2 separate regions of the Homo sapiens genome follow, and region 2 is linked to region 1. The links are contacts of gene promoters, found by promoter capture Hi-C in blood cells and fetal thymus (Javierre and others, 2016). All regions are on one chromosome and are shown on one strand. Each heading gives the region's core, a stretch centred on a gene start or on the middle of the fragment in contact. The rest is flanking DNA. Distances are from core to core; before and after follow the strand shown.

Region 1 (6,071 bases), core at 2,305-4,804:
TCTCACTTTGTGTAAAAAAAAAAAAAAAAAATCATCTGACATCCAGCTTTTCTAGGTGCCCAAAGCAGTTCTCCCTCCAGTGACAGACTCCAGGGAATCCCTTCGATTCACTGCCCTCTGTATGTCCCAGGGCAACTCCCTGGGTCCCATTCCTCAACATGGATTCATGGGCCACAGCCACGAGCCCCACGTGGAGTAAACACAGGGCCAAGTTCTCAAGGCCACCCTATGCCCTAACCTGGGGTGACAACCTCAACTCTGGCTATGAAGGGAGAATCACCTGTGGTGTTTTTTCATTGTTCTCCAAAAGCCTAGCCTCAGCCCACTCTGAAAGTGACTATTTGGGATGCTGGGGTGGAATCCAGGCAAATAGATTGAAAAAGCTCTGGGATAAATGTCAGAACAGAGGGAGGCAGCATCCCAGAAAAAAAACCTGAAGCAGAGGAGCTGTGAACCCCCGAGGGAACTAGCACCCCAAAACCATACAAAGGGCTTCTTCCCCAGGGGAGGTGGGCTCTAAGAAATTGCTGTTTTACCTTTAAAGCTTCTCAGGTTAGTGGGGAGAGAACAAAAGAGACCCGCCTGACAAAAGATTTCAAGTATCAAGTCAGCTGGGTAGGTAAATCAGGTCCCTGGCTTCCAACGGGGCTCGTTTCCCTCCACCTTCCTGTTGCCTCCAGGACCTCTGGCCTCCTCTCCTCCAGGACCCTCCAGGGCCTATTGCACGCAGCCTCAGGCATCTGGGCTCCAGGTATCCCACTGCTGCCTCATGCAGAGACCTTGGCTTCTCCTTAAGTGTTGTTGCCAGCCTTATCTTTCACTCCACCTCTAGAACCTCATTGTGACCATCTATGAAATGCAAGTCTTGGACGAGAATCTCGATGTCTGCAACCCCTTCAGGTCTCAAAGCACACAATGCTACAACTCCACTCCAAAATAAGTAGAAAACATCTTTTCCCCTCATACAACTTTGCCCATGGTGAGTTGCCTCTGACAAGAGAGAGAACCATCTGCCAGTTGCAGACACAGCAGTGGGTGAAGAGGTGAGGGCTTGGATTATTAAACACGGCCCTCCAGAGTAAATGGGCATGCACTTTACTGAACTGATGCCCTCCTGGTGAAGACAGTGGGTCCTTCAAGGAAGTGATGCCCCCGCCACCGTGACACGGTCTCGTCACAGAATCCTACCTCTCCTGCATGTTAGCAGTGACATGTCTAGGAGAAAAGGGCCAAGTTCATGGCTACAGTGAGCTATAATGATTGTGCTACTGCACTCCAGCCTGGGGGAGTAAGACTGGGCTTGTAAAAAAAAGGAAAAGGACAAATACGAGCATCCTGCGAGTCAACAACTTTAGCTAGAATGATCAAGAGATAGAAAGGAACAGAATCAGCCCATTTTGCCATTAACTCTTTAGGAAAAGCAGTTGGCCCCAGAGGGTACACTCAGAGGAGAGAGTGCTTGCTGCTTCCATCCGTGGGTCTGGCTGCAAGGCTCCCATTGTTCTCTGTTCCGAGGTCAACAAGGGGCAGTGAAATCGGACAGGCAGAGGTGAGCGCTGCCTGAGCCACCGCTCCGTCCCGGATTTGCAGGCAGCTGGAGCCCGCGGGACCGGCCAACCCCGCCCACGCCGAGCCCACAGTGGCCCCGTCCTGCCGCGCGGACACTCAGGGCGGCCCAAGGAATCGCCTACATGGGATCCACCCCGCGGGTAACTATCTTTTTATAGAATAAACAAAACAGAAAAACAAAAATCTCGTAACTCCGGCGCTGGCCGCCTTGCACTGCCAATGACTCAGCAGCCTGTGTAAGTTACATATTGGAGAGAGGACCGAGCCCCCCGGAGCCCCCTCCACCTCCCAGCGCCCAGATCCCAGCCGGACAGTGAAACGCACAATGTCAGGAGTAACGCGGCTTCACAACCGGAAAATGGGTGATTTTATGGCAAAGAGTTTATAAAAACATCCCTTGGACTTTATTTTATGACAAAAGATAGGAAAACACCTCTTAATCTATTTCAAAATAGTAATTAGCCAATGTTTAAATTTCAAGAGGAAAAATCCGAATTACAGGATTTTAAAGAATATGGTTTTAGGCCAGGCGCGCCTGGTGGCTCAGGCCTATAATCCCAGCACTTTGGGAGGCCGAGGCGGGAGGATCGCTTGAGCCCAGTTCAGACCAGCCTGGGCAACACAGTGAGACCCCGTCTCTTAAAAAAAAAAAAAGGTAAAAAAAAAAAGCTTGTAGTGTTCATATGTATATATATATATTATTCAATATATTACGGTAACTAAGTCCTGCCTAGTAAAATCTTTTTTTTTGTAATAAAATTAGCAACTCACTAAATTTATGTGAATATATGGTTTTAAAAACTCTCAATGAAGATTAAAAGTTCACTGTCAGAGGTTTCAGCAGTCCTTTCCCAAGCTTATTTACATGCTAATTTTGCTTAGTAAACTCTGGCTTCAAAGAACACAAAGGTCAGCTGCCACCAGGTCCCTCCTCCGAGGCTTTGGCCCTAGGGACCCTGGGAAGGCGGCTTCAGTGCCCGCTTCCCTGAGCAAAGGCTCGTCTGGACTCTGACGCGGACCCACCGGGTGGGGTGGGTCTCCACGCCACCCGGCTGTGCGTGGGGCAAGTCCTGCACCCCGGGCCTGCGTTTCCCGCTGCGTGAACGGATGGTCTTGCGAATCTAGCCAAGGGCACACAGCGAGCCTCTACTCGGGCATTAGGCAGGCTGTAACGACTGAGTGCTGCACGGGCAGCGTCCTTTTGCTTGTGTTTTCTTAACCCGTAAGTCATTTAAAGCTTTGTTTTGGAACGACCCTCTAGTGAAATTGGAACATGCCCATTTAATGCCATATTTTAAAAACGCTGTAACCCCCTCCCATCTCCGCGTTCACCCTTGAGGAAATCCTAACAGTCACCATGGATATAAACATTAATAACAAAATTAAAGCTCATAACAGGCCACTTGCCACGCCTTGGTGTTTGGTCATTAAAACCAATACTGGTCTGAACTACAGACCGCGGAGGGCAACGTGGACTTTGAGGCTGTTCGGTCCAACTGCGAGACGCAGATTCACCTCCAGGTGGAATTCTAGCTCGCGCGGAGCTGGAGAATCGGGGCTTTCCCGTGCGGTCCGACCCGGGTCCAAGCCAACCCCCGCCCGAGTGGCGAGGCCGCGAACCCCGGGCAGTACGCGGGGTCCCCACGCCCCGGGCTCCGCATGCCCGCAGGAGGGGTGGGTACGGAAGGGGAGGATGGCGCAGCCTCGCCCGGCCCGCGATGCCCCCTAGGCCTCCCCGGCAACCTCCCCTTGGCGCCCTCTTGGCCTTCCCCAGGCTTCCCCCCCGCGCCCCCTCGGCTCCCGCGCCGCCTCCTCCGCCTCACCCTGCAGGCTCTCCTCCTGCATCCCGGGCGCTCCGTTCTGCGACATGGCGCCAGAGGGCAACTGCGGCGATCGGAGTCCGCGCCGGGCTGCGGGATGTGCTTCAGCTGCGGGCGGTGGGAAAGCGGAGGTCGGAGCGCCGCGGCCCAGCTGCGCTCCCGGACTGAGCGGAGCCCCGCAGCCCGGCCGGAGGAACTCACAGGGCAGGGCGGGGCCGGGCGGATCTGCGGCCGCGTCGCCCATTGGCCGCGACTTGGGGCCTGCGCGTGCGCAGGGGCGTGGGGTGCGTGTGGCACGTGCGGCGCGTGCGCGGGGCGGGTCCTGCGGTGGGCGAGGGGCAGAGGCCTGCGGTGCGCGGGACGCGGGCGGGGAGAGGGGCGGGGCGAGGGGCGCGCAGGCGCGAGGGCGGCAGCGACCGCCTGAGGTGAGCCGGCCCGGGCTGGACGCCGCGGGCCGCGTGACGAGTGGGCTGCGCGGTCGCCGCCGCGGCGGGCGGTGGGCCGGGTTCTCCTTTGAAGGGGCGGTGGGACCGGCGGACTCTCTGGGCACTGGCTACCACGGAGACGCCGCTACGCTTCGGGGCGGGGCCCGTCTTTCCATCCTGCTAGTGGGGAAACTGAGGCGCGGGGCTGGCGGCGTCCGTGCGGGGGGCGTGAGGACGTGCAGGGAAGCGGCCGCTGCGGCTCCGAGACGGCCCGTGGGGTCGGGACCTGCGCCCGGGGCGGGAGCTGCGAGCGGTGGGCCGGAGCTGAGCGTCTCGGGACGGGACCGCGTCCCCGGGTCTTTGCCCGCCCCGCCGGGGCGCCCCTGCGTGAACAGCGGGGCCCGTTGTGTCCGGGGCGTCCGCCCGCAGGAAGAAGCGGAGGCTCGAGCAGAGTCGAAAGAGTCTGCCCGAGGGAGGCGCGGACCCCAGGGGCCCGGGAGAGGCGCGCCGTCCGCCTCTGCGGCAAGGGGCCTCCGGGGTGCAAACGCGGTGTGGGGCGGGCGTCCCCGGGGTGGGACGCCCCGTCCACGGGGCGGAGTGGCGCTTGGTCGGGCCGGGTGGGTGCCCGGCTTCCGTGGGAGCCAGCCTGGCGTGGGGGCCTCGCAGCCTCGGGACTGGGAGGCACTTTTCAGAGGAAAGTCGCTTTCTCATTTCCCGCTTTTGATCAAAAGTCTTTCTTCTTGAAAGCATTGTTGATCCAAATCCAAGTGTCAAGGTGCGCCCCAGAAACGCTGCTTCCCAGACAGTCGTGTCTGGTCTTGCGGGAAAGGAGGAGGCGTCCCGCCAAGGAACCAGGCGCTCAGAAGCTGAACCGGGGTCACAGAGCCGCGAAGCCAGACCTCAGTCGCTGCGTGCATTTCATCCCTGCTCTTGCCTGTTGAATCGTCTCTAGTCTTTGGAGTGCCATGATTTTAGTTTTCTCAGGAGTAACAAACATCCAGAGGCCAGTGTGGGGCGCATGTCTTTCATCTCAGCACTTTGGGAGGCCGAGGCAGGAGGATCGCTGGAGCCCAGGAGTTGGAGACCAGTCTGGGCAATATGGCGAAACGCTTTCTCTCCCCTAAAAAAATACAAAAAACTTAGCTGGGTATGGTGGCACCTGCTGTGGGAGGATTCCTTGAGCCCAGGAGGTAGGGGCTACAGTGAGCCATGATCAGGCCACTACCCTCCAGCCTGGGCAACAGTGTGAGACCCTGTCTCAAAAAAAAAAAAAAAAAAACCGCCAGAGATACATAGCATAGCATTAATAATTTCGATAGTAGAACTGTAGTGCTGGCCAGGCAGTGGTTCTTGTGTGTAATCCCAGCATTTGGGGAGCCCAAGGCAGGAGGGTCACTTGAGCCTGATAGTTCAAGACCAACCTGGCAACACAGAAAGACTCCATCTCTATTAAAACAAAAATGTTACCAAGTACGGTGCACATAAGGATTACAATGAAAAAGAGAATGTGTATGCCAGAATGAAAAACGGAACCTATTCGAGGGAGTCAACTAAAAGTATTACGAAGAAAATCAAATGGAGAATTGTTCAGAATAGTGTAGCCTAGTGGCTTGTACTTTTTCCCATATGAGTTTCTACTTCGTGGAAAGGGTTTATGCACATCAAGAGGTATTTGCCACCATACATAGACTTGCTTGCTCAGCTAATAATCGAAAGCAATGCAGTCGTCCAGTGCAGCCTTAGCCAGTGAGTCAGTAGCTTTTTGTTGGGCTGTGATGGAGGCAGCAGTTTCATCAGCAATATTTCCTGATAGGCCAGATATGCTCGCAGTCATCCCAAGTAAAAGCAAACAAATACTGACTCTAGGTCCACTGGAATACTAAAGAAGGCACTACATAAATGAGTCACAGTGTCTCACTTCCAGCTGCCGAAAGAGGATGGGGCTTTGGTACTACCAGATGTCTGGGGATCACAGTGTTGATGACGGTTCTCAAATCTTGTACAGAATACCAGCTCTTCCCATTCGGCTTCCTTACAAGAAGGATTGGAGTATTACATGCTGGCGCAAGGAATAATTAGACCCCTTTTAATATAGTCTTTTGTTACGGATCTTATTCCTTCATTTGCTTCAGGCCTTAGAGGATATTGTCTGATATTGGGTAAAGGATTAATCAGGTTTACTTCCACTTTAATGAAAGTGGCTGAATATATTTTACTAATGTCGGTGGAAGACTCTGACCATAAGTGGTCTGACAAA
Region 2 (6,071 bases), core at 1,740-4,239, about 28 Mb before region 1:
GACCAACCTGGCCAATATGGCGAAGCCCCGTCTATACAAAAAAAAAAAAAAAAAAAAATACAAAAATTAGCCAGGTGTGGTGGTGCGTGCCTGTAATTCCAGCTACTCTGGAGGCTGAGGCACGAGAATCACTTGAACCTGGGAGGTGGAGGTTGCAGCGACCCGAGATCGTGCCACTGCATTCCAGCCTGGGTGAGGGAGTGAGACCCTGTATCAAAAAAAAAAAAAAAAAAAAAAAAGTGACTTGTGACAAAGTCTGAACCAACTGCAGGGGAGCTTCACACCACATCTCACGGTTAGGAGCACTGGAAATTTTTTAAAGATTAAATACACAGGGACAGATTTCCTGTTCACCCCATCTGTGGTTATTCCAGTATATGGAATAAAATGCATGACAATGGGAGAGACAGGAAGCCTATACTAGTCATTAAGCATCTGATGGAGGGGAAAAAAGGGCACTTCCCTTGATTTGGTCAATTTCCCACTACCCTGATTTCAACTTCACATGGAATTTCACAAGATAATAGCAAGTTAGTTTAGAGGATGTTTCACAGAACAGGCTGCTTTGCTGAGACCTCAGAGGTGTCAGTTGAACAAGACGAATGATTTGCATTTGGCTATTTCATTCCTCAAGGTCAGTGCTGGTCACGTCCCTCCTCTGGGAATGTCGGAGCCCACAGGGCCTTTAGAGATTATTTACTGACAAAAATTAAGTCCAGAGAAGTTAGGTCACATACTCAAGGTCACATTGCTGGTTAGTGACTGAATAATAATAGCTAAAACTTGTGCCATCTGCTAGGTATTACTCAAGCATTTTATACCTACCAACTCATTTAATCCTCATATCAACTCACGTGGTAGGAATCATTAGATTCTACAGAACCTACGTTTTTCAAAGATTTTTGAAAATACATTTTATTTCACAACCCAGTATACTCACACATACAAGTGCATTATAATTGAAAGACAGTTTCCTTAAAAACAATTGTTATGTTTACTGAATGTGATACAAACTGTTATGTTCCCTTTTCTTTTTACTCTTCCTATGTTAACCTCTTTTGAAAAAAATGCAGGCCACAACTTATTAAATGAGTCAAGATCCAAAGTTTGAAGAAAATGCTTATTTATTTATTTAATTTGAGCTAGAGTCTCACTTTGTTGCTCAGGCGGGAGTGACGGTCGGCTTCACTGCAGCCTCAACCTCCCAGGGTCAATCAATTCTCCTGCCTCAGCCCTCTGAGTAGCTGGGACTACAAGTGTGTGCCACCATACCTGGCTAATTTTCCTATTTTTTGCAGAGATAGGGTCTCAGTATGTTGCCCAGGCTGGTCTCAGACTCCTGGGCTCAAGTGATCCTCCTTCCTCGGCCTCCCAAAGTGCTGGGATTACAGGAGTGGGTCACTATGCTTGGCTAGAAAATATTTCTTTAAACTACTCTTCTAACTCACATCTCTGTTTTGAAAACTGTTATTGGTTTATGTATGTTAATTTTCCATCTACATATGCCACTTGGCTTGGGAAAGAACAGTCAGATGATTGCCATCCAACTTATTTCTGGTCAGTAGATATTCATTGCTCTCCTTGTAGTTAATGTCTAAAGATGGTACCCTTGCCTTTGACACAGATCATTATGCTGTAACCTTAGGAATACCTTAATTCACTTATTCATTCATCCATCCATTCATTCAACAAATATTTCAGCACCTAATCTATGCCAGGCATTGTCTAAATCAGGAGTTGGCAAACTATGGCTGTCAGGCCCAATCCAGAGTGCCACCTGCTTCTATAAATACAATTATATTGGCTCAGCCATGGCCATTCATTTATGTGTGGTCTATGGCTGCTCTGGGGCTCTAACAGCACAGTTGAGTAGCTGCCACAGAGACCATGTGGCCCGTGAAGCCCAAAATATTTCTTTTTTTCCTACCTGTCCTCAGGATACTTCTATTTTTTTTCTACCAGAAAATATTTCTTAATGTGGTCTTTTATAGAAAAAGTTTGCAAACCTTGGTGCTAGATTCTAAAATGCAATGGTATCTTAGACTGGTCTCTGCTGTCCTAGAGGTTTAAATTGTCCTGCTTAATTTAAAAAGGTTTGAGGCTTTTTGCCTCCCTTGCATTGCCTCAAAAAGCACCTGTTCCCAGTAAATGCTCAGCAGGCATTTGCTTCTACTAAAATCATCCAGTAGGTCTTGCAGCAGGTATTGGCAAGAAAGCAACATACCTAACAGGCAGAAAAGAGGCATGGTGGCTCACGCCTGTAATCCCAGCACTTTGGGAGGCCAAGGTGGGTGGATCACCTGAGGTCAGGAGTTTAAGACCAACCTGGTTAACACAGTCAAACCCTGTCTCTACTAAAAATACAAAAATTAGCCGGGCATGGTGGCACATGCCTATAGCCCAGCTACTCGGGAGGCTGAGGCAGGAGAATGCCTTGAACCCTCAAGGAGGAGGTTACAGTGATCCGAGATTGTGCCATTGCACTCCAGCCTGGGCGACAGAGTGAGACTCTGTCTCAAAAAAAAACAAAAACAAAAAGCTTATTCCTTTAATATAGCAGATTTCATTTTATAGATGCCTATCCTTGTTGCCTATGAGAGTTCAGTAGTCAACTTTTTTTGAGTACTGATTGTGTGTCCCACCTTGTGGGTAAGAAAAAAAAGACATAGTTCTTTGGTATTTACATTGAGGATAAGAAAAAAATGAGATAAGTGCATTTTATTGTAATCCTTACTACCTGTACTTCTGTTTGGGATCTTGGTGTGTACTTGGAAGTAATTTTAACCACTGTAGAATCTTAAATGTTCGTGTACTGATACCTTTCACCTTCCTTTAGTCACTAATCACTCCCAAGAGTAATTGCTGTGTGTGTGAGTTTATAAGTTAATTGTATCTTGCATTCATTCATCAAACTTTTTACTTCTAGTGTCTCCTATGGGGCAGCACCATAGATGTATTAAAGAAAAGACTGGTCCTCCCAGTCTGGTGGGGAGACATAGAAGTGAACACACAATGATAATGCAGTGAATTGACAGAAGATGCTCAGTCTTTCCAGCAGCACAGAGGAGAGGTAATTAACTGGGTAAGATTTTTTGGATGAGGCAACACTGAGCTGCCACTTGAAAGAGCTAACTGGACAAATAAGGAGTCATTGGATTTTCCAGAAAAGGGATCAGCATTTGTAAAGTCTAGAGGTGTTTGAAAATAGAGACTTTCAGGGGATAGTAGATATAAAAGCATTGGCCCATCATCAAAGGTATTTTGTGCTTTGGTTTTTAAAATTTTTAAAATATATTCACTGTGTTCATCTGCTTGTATTGCTATAAAGGAATATCTGAGACTGGGTAATTTATAAAAGAGAGAGGTTTGTTTTGGCTCATGGTTCTGCAGGCTGTGCAGGAAACATGGTTCTAGCAACTGCTTCTGGTGAGGGCCTCAGGAAGCTTATAGCCATGGTGGAAGGCGAAGTGTGAGCTGGTGTGTCACGTGGCAAGAGAGGAAGCAAGAGTGAGAGAAAGGATGTGCCTGACTCCTTTAAACAAACGGATCTCATGTGAACTGTTAGAGTGAGAACTCACTCATTACCTCTGCACCAAGCCATTCATGAGGGATCTACCCCCCATGACCCGAACACCTGAGGTAGAAACATTGGAAGTCATGTATCAACATGAGATTTGGAGGGGTCAAAGCATCCACACCATATCATTCACTTATTTACTTTTGTTTGTTTGTTTTTGAGACAGGGTCTTGCTCTGTCACCTAGGCTGGAGTGCAGTGACATAATCATAGCTCACTGTAACCTCAAACTCCTGGGCTCCAGTGATCCTCCCTCCTCAGCCTCCTGAGTAACTAGGACTACAGGTGTGCAACACCACGCCCAGCTCATTAAAAAAATTTTTTTTTGTTTAGATACCAGGTCTTGTTATATTGTTCAGGCTACTTATTTACCCACTCATTTATTTATTTATTATTAGTGGGAATAGGTTGTATGGAGCCATTTAGTCTTTTTTTTTTTTTTTTTTTTGAGACCAAGTCTCACTCTGTCGCCCAGGCTGGAGTGCAGTGGTGCGATCTTGGCTCACTGCAACCTCCGCCTCCTGGGTTCAAGTGATTCTCCTGCCTCAGCCTCCCAAGTAGCTGGGATTACAGGGGCCCACCACCACATCTGGCTAATTTTTGTATTTGTAGTAGAGACAGGATTTCACCATGTTGGCCACGCTGGTCTCAAACTCCTGACCTCAAGTGATCTCCCTGCCTCAGCCTCCCAAAGTGCTGGTATTACAGGAGTGAGCCATCGCGCTTGACCCACTTAAGCTTTTTAACCAATCTGGTCCACCGATTGACTTGTGCACGTCCTTACCAGTCCTGAGTAGGACATCAAACTGCAACCTTGGTGTCTTGGGCAAGAAGCACCAACTGAATGATCTAGCCTAACCAGTCATACCCAAAAGTAATCTGTGTGGGAGAAGAGAGCAGCTGCTTTTAAGCCAATAAAATTCAAGGCAGGTAAGACGACTGGGTAGTTATGACACTGCTGTCTCCTTCTCCTGGTAAAAATGCTTACCCGCTGTGGCTGCTCCCTCAGTGCTTCTACCTGGTGCCTGACCTTTCAGTCTTCCTAATAAATCTGCCTGAGCTTCGGTGCCTCCTCAGGTGTCACGAGGGGAGTTTGTCTGGAGACCCTTTGGGAGCTGATGTCAAATGCTCAACAAATGTTCTGTTAAGTTAGTGCTGCAGTAGTCTGGAAAAGGAGAAGATTAAAGGAATAAAATATGCCCCCAACAGTTTTGGAGAACACTAGCCAGTGGGGACTCTGCTCTGTCATCTAAGGTGACCATATGGTTGGCTGATAAATGATAACAATTTTCTGTAACACGTGGGCTTTTCATCTTCCCAACAGTCTGGAGGAAAAATATTAGATATGATGACAGGAGCAGTTTTTACCATGTCGTTAAGGGCCCCAAATGTAGTTTTTAGATTCCATAGACACTAAATCCAGCAATGCCACAAGAATGCCTGTGCAAACAGGATCTGTGTTGATGCAGGCTTTAAAATTTTTTTTTTATTTCTGATATATACAAAGAAAACTCACTTCATCTAGCTTAAACAAATAAGGTTATTTTGTTAGGAGGATACAAAGTATCTAGCAGAATCCAAGAGAGCAGGTGTTGCTGGGTCTCTCAAGGGACCTGCCACCAGGTTCCCACAGGGCATCGGCCACCAAGGAAGAAGCTCCCTCTCCCATCTTTCGCTTCCTGTTTTTGGTCTGTGGATTCCCCTCATTTATTTGCTTTATTCTTCCCTCCATACAGCCTGCCTTTCTCTGCCTCTCCTGGGCTTCACATGCTCAGTTCCAGACCTGAGCAATGATTGACTTGCTCTTGGTCCCTGTTATAAATTCCAAGGGAAAATAATAGAACTGGCTTCATGTGGGTCAGGTCTCCACCTTGACCCATCAGCTGTGGCCCTGGGGAGGTATGTAGGGTGGCCTAGAGCATCATGGCTTCAGAGAGGGACGTAATTCTGGGTGGGAGTTAATAATCTCAGAGGAGATTGTGGATGATACAGACACCCCCAAAATAGCCTCTGGGACCTCTCTGATCTATGACAGAGGTCGATTTCTGTCAGGGCACAATTGCTTTGCATTACAGGCTAGGAATTTACATGTAGGCCTGCAAGTCAGTGTTTCTGCTTTTTTGGAGGTTTACTTCATATCTTCACTGGGTACTATTGAAGAGGTGAACACTGGGTATAAATACTGTTCTTATTACTGTGTTACAGCACGCACCTGAGAAGTTCTAAGAGGCGATTCTATCCAGGTTTAAATAAGGAGCTTTGCAGAGGTAGTATATCTCATGATCATGTATTTGAGATATCTGGCAGAAAAAATGGGTGTGTTCTTGACTGTCCCTAGTCCTTGAGTTTGGAGGCACTTCTCTTCTATCCTTCCAAGGCTCTCTGCTATTCACCCATGCCCTCTTGTCAACTTTAGTGTCCACAAGTACCTGATAGGGACCTCACCCTGCCTAAAGCAGGATTTTTGGATTCTTGCCTTGGTTTCTGCCCAGTGC

The links. The method cuts DNA at HindIII sites, captures the fragments that hold promoters and counts their contacts. A CHiCAGO score of 5 or more calls a contact.
Region 2: a contact is called between a fragment that was not itself captured here and the fragment with the promoter of BNIP3 in region 1, in 1 of 17 cell types (activated CD4 T cells). The highest score is 5.6, in activated CD4 T cells.

The regions. Positions count from the first base shown.
Region 1 is chr10:131,978,369-131,984,439 of GRCh38, forward strand. It overlaps BNIP3 (BCL2 interacting protein 3), which reads right to left and starts at 3,555. Exons shown (of 6, transcript NM_004052.4): 1 at 3,393-3,555. The coding sequence starts at 3,438. RefSeq lists an enhancer at 2,734-3,658 and silencers at 3,066-3,295, 3,526-3,825, 3,876-4,065, 4,106-4,225. The HindIII fragment of the contact is 3,266 bases long and covers 2,805-6,070 here.
Region 2 is chr10:104,342,630-104,348,700 of GRCh38, forward strand. It overlaps a transcript of CFAP58 not described here. Among named protein-coding and RNA genes, the nearest start is that of ITPRIP, 7.2 kb to the left of the region's middle. RefSeq lists a silencer at 3,521-3,580. The HindIII fragment of the contact is 904 bases long and covers 2,538-3,441 here.